Regions from separate parts of the Homo sapiens genome. Here regions 2 and 3 are each linked to region 1. Evidence: promoter capture Hi-C in human tissues and cell types (Jung and others, 2019). All regions are on one chromosome and are shown on one strand. The core of a region is centred on a gene start or on the middle of the fragment in contact, and the rest is flanking DNA. Distances in the headings are between cores, read along the strand shown.

What was found. The method cuts DNA at HindIII sites, captures the fragments that hold promoters and counts their contacts. A contact is called where the count stands out against the background at its distance.
Region 2: a fragment that was not itself captured here is called in contact with the fragment with the promoter of MYL12A in region 1 in 1 of the 25 tissues and cell types used here (lymphoblastoid cells).
Region 3: a contact is called between a fragment that was not itself captured here and the fragment with the promoter of MYL12A in region 1, in 1 of the 25 tissues and cell types used here (dorsolateral prefrontal cortex).

Annotation. Positions count from the first base shown.
Region 1 is chr18:3,246,551-3,249,385 of GRCh38, reverse strand. It overlaps MYL12A (myosin light chain 12A), which reads right to left and starts at 1,585. Exons shown (of 4, transcript NM_006471.4): 1 at 1,477-1,585. It also overlaps a transcript of MYOM1 not described here. RefSeq lists enhancers at 447-516, 1,649-1,878 and a silencer at 1,279-1,358. The HindIII fragment of the contact is 15,684 bases long and covers 1-2,835 here.
Region 2 is chr18:2,892,921-2,895,996 of GRCh38, reverse strand. All of the region lies in intron 4 of EMILIN2 (elastin microfibril interfacer 2), which reads right to left. Among named protein-coding and RNA genes, the nearest start is that of EMILIN2, 47 kb to the right of the region's middle. The HindIII fragment of the contact is 6,251 bases long and covers 1-3,076 here.
Region 3 is chr18:3,697,913-3,700,798 of GRCh38, reverse strand. The region is part of intron 7 of DLGAP1 (DLG associated protein 1); the gene reads left to right. Among named protein-coding and RNA genes, the nearest start is that of DLGAP1-AS6, 46 kb to the right of the region's middle. The HindIII fragment of the contact is 3,729 bases long and covers 1-2,886 here.

The DNA of each region.
Region 1 (2,835 bases), core at 336-2,835:
TGTTTTAGCTCAGAATCATTGTGGGCTGTAACGAGAGATACACAACATGATTAAGGAAAATGTTAGACTAGATTAATAGGTGGGAGAAATAGAAGAGATTCTCAAAGTGGCTTTCCCCACACACCAAAGGACACAAGAAGTTTTCAGAATCTCTAGAAACTATGTTCATTTATAAAATGGGATTAATCCATACCAATATATACATTAGAGTTCTGTGGTTAGAATCCTAGAGTCCAGCATTTATTTACAAAGTGGCAATAAATGTAAAATAACCTAGAAACTTCTTCTACAAAACGAACACTCAAATTGATAATATTCTGAGAAATATCACACATTCTGCAAGAAAAAACCACCATCTTACAAAACACTGCGTACTGTGATAGCACCTAGTATTTGGTGGGCTTTCTAAACCCTGACCAAATATACCGCCTCATTTAATCAATGCACTTAAAAAAAAAAAGCCTAAGTATAACTTATTTTCTGGTGCTAACCACAATTTTTAAAAAGTGTATTTCAAGTTGGTGCTTCCGTTCCAAGTAAACCAAGTTTCATTTCTTATGCAAACTTCCGGTTGAAGGTAGGATTCGTTCTCTTGGACTGCCACACCCAAAAGTTCTCACCACTGGACAAAGACAATTAGCTGTGAGGGCTGACTTGCCAGTAAAGCCTCGCTTTTGAAAATAGAGTGCTTTTCTGATTACCGTTTATTAGAGCCCTTCCAGAACATGAAACAAATACCAATAATTTTAAGAAATATTCGCTTTATTCGCCTTTAAATATGAAACTTTTTGCACTTAAGTTAAAATCTCTGCTAAATCCATAGGTCTCTCAAGAACTGACAGATACATTCATATACCTACTAAACTACTTTAAAAAGAAGACACTTCCATGGCGAATTGAATTAGCCCAAACTTTCCCCCCAAATGGGACAAGGTATTACATTTTGGAGTTTTTCTTCGAGTCACAAACTAAACTCCAGATCTCTCTGTCCAAAATTTCATCGCTTAAAGAAAAAAAGTTCTAATTACAGGAGCGGATACTGAGCTGAAGAACTTCCCAATTTGAGTTGGTTATTCCTACTAAACGCAGCCACACAGCTGCAACAACAGCTGCAGCAGGGGGACAACGGGCTACGTTTTTGCGCAAACCCTCTTGAATCGGGCAAGTTGACGTTAGAAACTAAAATAGTCCCGGAGTCAGCTCTGCAGGGGTCGGGTTTCGCGGGCCCGGCAGTCGCCCAAGCTCAAGGCGCCAGTGAGCGAAGCCACATTTCCAGAGTTCCAAGTTTGGGCACAGGAGCGAAGTTCGGGTCTGGGCCACTCCAAGCCATGGCCTCGGATCCCAGAACCGGGGACCTGGCTGGCACACCTGCCCAGGTGCGCTACCGGCGCCAGGAGCCCCGCCGCCCTCCAGCTGCCCCCGCGGAGACGGGTCCCCGGGATGGGTCTCACGCGCCCGAACGCGAGCGCCACTCACCCGGCACAGCTACGAGAATCCGAGCACCTCTCCGAGCCCCTCGCTGCCGCTATCACACCACCCTGCTACCCAGAGAGCCGCTAAAAACCACCGCTTCCGGCCTCTGCTTAGCAAGCCGGAAGGAAGCCCGGTCACCTTTCTTGGCCCGCAGAGTGGGTCTGACTTCACGGAGGGGCGACAGAGAGGGAAGTCGCCAGTGTGGTCAGCGGGCGTGGTATTGACCAAGTGCATGAGAAGGAAGTGTAAAGTGGGCGACCTAGAATATAGAGCAATATATAATGGTCCTCTGGGTCCTGTTACTGAGTTTCCTTCTTTTTTGTACCTGTTGTTGCAGTGTTAAGTCTTCCTCCCCCCTATCCTTTCCGCAGATGGTTGCGTCCGTCCTGTGGCTTTGCCTGGCCGCACATTCCAGGGCACGGCGAAGGGCGGGGCCCGTCGGCCCAAGTCCTTGTAGGGAAATCGAGGAGAGGGCTGCGGGCCCACGTGACTGACCCTCGCCCCGCCCCGAAGCCGGGCTCCAGCTTGTGGGCGGTAGTGCGCCTGCGCTTGACGCCCCGCGCGGGGTCTGGGTCTCCGCCTGAGGGCCCCGGAGCAGTGCGCGTATCCCGGGAGCGGATCTTGATGCTAGCTCTGTGTGCAGTGTAATTTTATTAAGAGTCCCGCCCCCTCCATACGGGAGGAAACGTGTGTCCCTGGGGCCCTCAGCCAAGCCTCCACTATCTTTTTGGCCCAGACGGATTTCCCAGGTCACAAGTGGCTGGAGACTTCCTCTTGAAAAACATTTGCCGTCGTTTTTCCCTGGCAGAGCCCCTTTGACCCTGGCTAACAAGGACAGCCTGACTTGGATCCCACTATGCAGGAAGGAAGGCGACTCTTCCCCGCACCTCTTGCTACGATTAGGACTTGCGACTTGGTGAAAACAGGAATCAAAACTTGGGCCTATTTCTCCTGAGGTCTGCTTGCCTAGAACAATTCGTAACGATGAATCTTATTAAAAAGAGAAAGTCCTCCCCGACTTTATCTTTTTCCGCCCAGAATCCGATAAGGAAGACTTGTTCTGGCCCCCTCAGCTCTCTGACCTCACCTACCAGAGGAGAGAGTGGGATCCTCTAACACTCGAGCCGTCATCCCAGCACTAGGGGACAGTGACCAGTGTGGCTCCCGTGGCCAGAACCCTTCTGAAGTTTGGGTTGCCCTGTGGTCTTCGCCTTCAAAGCAGGCCGCCACTTGAATCCTTCTGGAACGGACAGTGTTGCTGTAAACGCCGCGGAATAGTATCTTCTAAGTATTCGTAGCTTCTTTCTTGAGGGATCTCGGGAACGTTCCGTGTATTAACCACTAACGTATTCCAAAGTTAAC
Region 2 (3,076 bases), core at 148-2,647, 350 kb after region 1:
GATCTGTGAAGAGGGCAACAGGCTGAGTAGAAACACCACAGTGTGTGTTCCCGGTCTGGCGATCTGCTTACTGGTCCAAAACCATCACACATCTTCACCTCTGGATCTGTGCTCACTGTGGTAGATATCATGACCACCATTAATCCCCCTTCCCTCCCCAAACATACCAGCCACGTCACCCTTCAAGAGCAGACCTGCTTTGACAATAGAATGTGGCAGTGATGCCACTCCAGCTCTGGGCTAGCCTGTGGGAGGCCCAGCAGCTTCCACTTTCCCTTGACAGTCGCCATAGTCTGACTACTTGACACCGCCATGCTGTGAGGAAGCCCAGGTTGGCCACATGGAGAGAGGGGCCAGGTGGAGGAGCACCGAGGCACCAGACATATGACTGAGTCTTCACAGACCTTCCAGTCAACCGCAAGCTGAATGCAGCTGAGTGGGCGACTCAAGCTGATGCCACATAGAGCAGAAGAACCGCTGAGCCAAGCCCTGCCGGGGTTCCTGACCTACAGAATAATGGAAACTAATACATCTTTGTTGTTTTAAGCCAGCAAGATTTGGAATGGGTTGTTATAAAGCAATAAATAGCTAATCCACAATGTCCTCCCCTCCTGCTTTCTGAATCCCACCCATCCCTCAATCAGATCCAGTAACACCTCCTCCTGGAAGCTTCTCTCATCTCACCTTATTCCTCACCCCATCAGCCTCTGTACTCTGCTCGGTAAATACCTACACTGAGGGCTCAGCTCAGGGCTCTCTCCTGAGAATCCCTCCCTGACTTCCACTGTGGGTGCTTCTCTGAACACTCAAGGTGGCTCATGCACACCACACCCCATTCCTGTGACCATCTGTCTGCTTGTTTCCCCATCAGACTTTTATCCACATACTCCCCCACACAGCCATTACCTACCACATAATAGGGGCTCAGTAAGAGCTTATGAACTAAAGGGATAAACTGCTATGCCACAAACAATCTCATTCATCTCTCTGCAGACCTGTGAGTCTCTTTCCCACTGTGATTGCAAATGCTTTAGAATAAGGATTATGCCTACTTATCTCCAGGTCCCCCAAGAGCCTTGCACATCGTAGGCACTCAATAAACATTCTGTTGACTTTTAACTGATTGACATGTCACTTTCATTGTGACCTTAGCTCCAGATTCTCCCATGCACCTCTGATACTCAGGTTCCAGGTCTCCTAGACCTGGATGCTAGACAAGGGCAGAGGAGGCTCTGCTTGTTTATTTCTGGCTCTTTTCCAATCAATGAAATTCTCAAAACTCCATGCAGTCTACACTCACCACAATGAGTTCAGTCCAAAGGGATAATGTTTTGTATGGCACATTCTCTTTTAAAAGAATTCACCCCCCAACTCCTACTGCAACAGACAAATGCGAAAATGTTAACACAGCTTCCCACGCCACCAGGGAGTTCCAAATCAACTGGAAATATCTGATTCAACCTGTTATCGTAAGACACAGACCAGACAGCGTTGTCACCACAAGGGACAATCATTCTATGAACACATACATGGTCTTGTGACCTCTACTCAACATTCCAGAGATAGAGGAGCTGAGTGGCCCTGGAGTGGGGGAAGGGCTGGGTTATAAATAGTGAGGTGCAGTGGGCTGGACACTCGGGTGGCGGCCAGATTCCTGGTCCTCCTGGGCCTAGGTGACTCGTCATCTGCAAGATAAGCACAGTGCTCTGGGGACATCCAGGGCATTTTCCCACCTACCTCGGACCCTCTCCACCCTCCTGAGCTGCCAGGACCTGGCCCTGGCTCTCCCTGACCAAGCCAGAGCTCGCCTGCTTCCCACGTTCTAGCCTACGCTGCCTTGGGTTTTATGTCTCATCTGGGACTTGATCATAAAATCCCAAGGTTCACAGAGGCCATGAAATCTCAGTTCCTTGTGCAAGGGCCTGTGTCACCCAGAGCGGAACCAGGTCAGGGAGGTAAAAGTCCCAAAGGCAAGGATGGGAGAAAAGAAAACAGGGAGGGGGAGGTCAGGAATAGGTTCCTTCTAGCACAAAGCAGGCCCCTCAACAAGTCCCCATGGACCAAGTAAGTCTGCACTCAGTTCTGGGAGACACACAGTCATCATGGCTGGACTGCAAGAAAACAATTCTTGGACGCAGCCTGGCCTGGTTTCCATCCTGGCTCCCCCACTGAACAGCCACATGACTTTGGGCACATTTTCCCTGTTGGAAAACAGCCTTTCTGTGAGGCCATGATAGGATTCAGTCCCCCTGAAGTGACCAAGCCAGTGCTGTACATAGAAAGTGTTCAAAAACGCGAGCTCCCTCTTCCTTCCTTTCACGCCCAGACTCCGACTAGAGAGGGCTAGCTTATGTCGGAGGCTGTCTCAGAGTACAAACCCAGGTACAAGAGAAGCTCTGTCCTTTGAGAAGGCTGCGTTTAGCACCCACAAGTAACAAAAAAATCTTATTACATATATTATTCATTCATTCACATTCATTCATTCAACAAACATTTGTTGAGTGCCTAAGGTGTAGCCAGCATTGCTCTCAGCACTACTGCTGAGCTTCCTGGATGCAGGCACTATGGAGCTTTAGATACTTCCTGTCCCTAAACTGCTCTCATCCACGGTCCTGTGTCTGGAAACAAATATGACAGCATCCTATCTGCCATCAGCTAAGCCCTGAAGATGATAACGACACAGATAAAAAGTGATGCTTGAAGAGAGGTACGTAGGAGACTCCCTAGGTAGAAGAGAGGACAACACCCACTGCCCCAAGCTGTTATGCCAAAAATCTGACCCCAACTCTGAGCTCACCAGCCTGATTCTACAGATAATATTTGGCTATCCATCTGTGGGAAGAACCAGTTTTCCTTTTTTATTTTCAATGTGTTGTGAACTGATATTTTTGTAAATTACGTAGATCATGTGCTTAAATACTGCAATGTTGTTTGTTTATTTATTTGAGATGGAGCCTCACTCTGTTGCCCAGGCTGGAGTGCAGTGATGCAATCTCGGCTCACCTTAACCTCTGCCTCCCAGGTTCAAGCAATTCTCCCACCTCAGCCTCCCGACTAGCTGGGACTACAGGCGCGT
Region 3 (2,886 bases), core at 178-2,677, 450 kb before region 1:
TCTTTACCAAAAGTACAAAAAATTAGCCGGGCGTGGTGGTGGGCGCCTGTAGTCCCAGCTACTCGGGAGGCTGAGGCAGGAGAATGGCGTGAACCTGGGAGGTAGAGCTTGCAGTGAGCTGAGATCACACCACTGCACTCCAGCCTGGGCAACAGACAGAGACTCTGTCTCAAAAAACAATTAAAATTTTAAAAAAATAAAATAAAATGCTAGGTGGCTGGCAAGATGGCTGAATAGGAACAGCTCCAGTCTGCAGCTCCCAGTGAGATCAACACAGAAGGCAGGTGATTTCTGCATTTCCAGCTGAGGTACACGGCCCATCTCACTGGGACTGGTTAGATAGTGGGTATAGCCCACAGAGGGCGAGCTGAAGCAGGGTGGGGTTTTGCCTTACTCGGGAAGCACAAGGGGTTGAGGAACTTCCTCCCCTAGCCGAAGGAAGCCTTGAGGGACTGTGCTGTGAGGAACAGTGCGTTCCGGCTCAGATACTATGCTTTTCCCATGGTCTTCACAGCCCGCAAACCAGGAGATTCCCTTGGGTGCCTACACCACCAGGGCCCTGGGTTTCAAGCACAAAAACTGGGTGGCTATTTAGACAGACACCTAGCTAGCTGCGGGAGTTTTTTCATACCCCAGTGGTGCCTGGAACACCAGCGAGACAGAATCTTTCACTACCCTGGAAAGGGGGCTGAAGCCAGGGAGCCAAGTGGTCTAGCTCAGCGGATCCCACCCCCAGAGAGCCTAGCAAGCTAAGATCCACTGGCTTGAAATTCTCATTGCCAGAACAGCAGCCTGAAGTCCACCTGGGACGCTTGAGCTTGGTCAGGGGCGGGGCGTCCACCATTGCTGAGGCTTGAGTAGGCAGTTTTCCCTTCACAGTGTAAACAAAGCCATGGGGAAGTTTGAACCGCAGCTCAGCAAAGCCACTGTAGCCAGACTGCCTCTCTAGCTTCCTCCTCTCTGGGCAGGGCATCTCTGAAAGAAACGCAGCAGCCCCAGTCAGGGGCCTATAAGTAAAACTCCCATCTCCCTGGGACAGAGCACCTGGGGGAAGGGGCAGCTATGGAGACAGCTTCAGCAGGCTTAAACGTTTCTGTCTGACAGCTCTGAAGAGAGCAGTGGATCTCCCAGCACAGTGCTCAAGCTCTGCTAAGGGACACTCTGCTTCCTCAAGTGGGTCCCTGACCCCCATGCCTCCTGACTGGGAGATACCTCCCAGCAGGAGTCAACAGACACCACATACAGGAGAGCTCTGGCTGTCATCTGGCAGATGCCCCTCTGGGATGAAGCTTCCAGAGGAAAGAACAGCAATCTTTGCTGTTCTGCAGCCTCCGCTGGTGATACCCAGGCAACAGGATCTGGAGCGGACCTCCAGAAAACTCCAGCAGACCTACAGCAGAGGGCAGGTTAGAAGGAAAACTAACAAACAGAAAGGAATAGCATCAACATCAACAAAAAGGACATCCACACAAAAACCCCATCTGAAAGTCACCAACATCAAAGACCAAAGGTAGATAAATCCACGAAGATGAGGAAAAACCAGTGCAAAAAGGCTGAAAATTCCGAAAACCAGAATGCCTCTTCTCCTCCAAAGGATCACAACTCCTCGCCAGCAAGGGAACAAAACTGGATGGAGAATGAGTTTGACGAATTGATGGAAGTAGGCTTCAGAAGTTGGGTAATAACAAACTCCTCCGAGCAAAAGGAGCGTGTTCTAACCCAATGCAAGGAAGCTAAGAACCTTGAAAAAAGGTTAGAGGAATTGATAGCTAGAATAACCAGATTAGAGAAGAACATAAATGACCTGATGTAGCTGAGAAACACAGCACGAGGACTTCGTGAAGCATACACAAGTATCAATAGCCAAATCGATCAAGCGGAAGAAAGGATATCAGAGATTGAAGATCAACTTAATGAAATAAAGCATGAAGACAAGATTAGAGAAGAAAGAATGAAAAGGAATGAACAAAGCCTCCAAGAAATATGGGACTATGTGAAAAGACCAAACTTATGTTTGATTGGTGTACCTGAAAGTGATGGGGAGAAAGGAACCAAGTTGGAAAACGTTCTTCAGGATATTACCCAGGAGAACTTCCCTAACCTAGCAAGACAGGCCAACATTCAAATTCAGGAAATACAGAGAACACTACAAAGATACTCCTCAAGAAGAGCAACCCCAAGACACATAATCATCAGAGAGAAAGGTCGGGTTACCCACAAAGGGAAGCCCATCAGACTAACAGCAGATCTCTCTGCAGAAACCCTACAAGCCAGAAGACAGTGGAGGCTAATATTCAACATTCTTAAAGAAAGGAATTTTCAACCCAGAATTTCATATCCAGCCAAACTAAGCTTCTTAAGTGAAGAAGAAATAAAATCCTTTACAGACAAGCAAATGCTGAGAGATTTTTGTCACCACCAGGCCTGCCTTACAAGAGCTCCTGGAGGAAGCACTAAAGATGGAAAGGAAAAACCAGTACCAGCCACTGCAGAAACATATCAAATTGTAAAGACCATTGACACTATGAAGAAACTGCTTCAACTAATGGGCAAAATAACCAGGAAACATCATAATGACAGGATCAAATTCACACAAACAGTATTAACCTTAAATTTGAACAGGCTAAATGCCCCAATTAAAAGACACAGAGTGGCAAATTGGATAAAGAGTCAAGGCCCAGCGGTGTGCTGTATTCAGGAGACCAAACTCATGTGCAAAGACACACATAGGCTCAAAATAAAGGGATGGAGGAATATTTACCAAGCAAATGGAAAGCAAGAAAAAAGCAGGAGTTGCAATCCTAGTCTCTGATAAAACAGACTTTAAGCCAATAAAGATCAAAAAAGACTAAGAAGGGCATTACATAATGGTTAAGGAGTCAATGC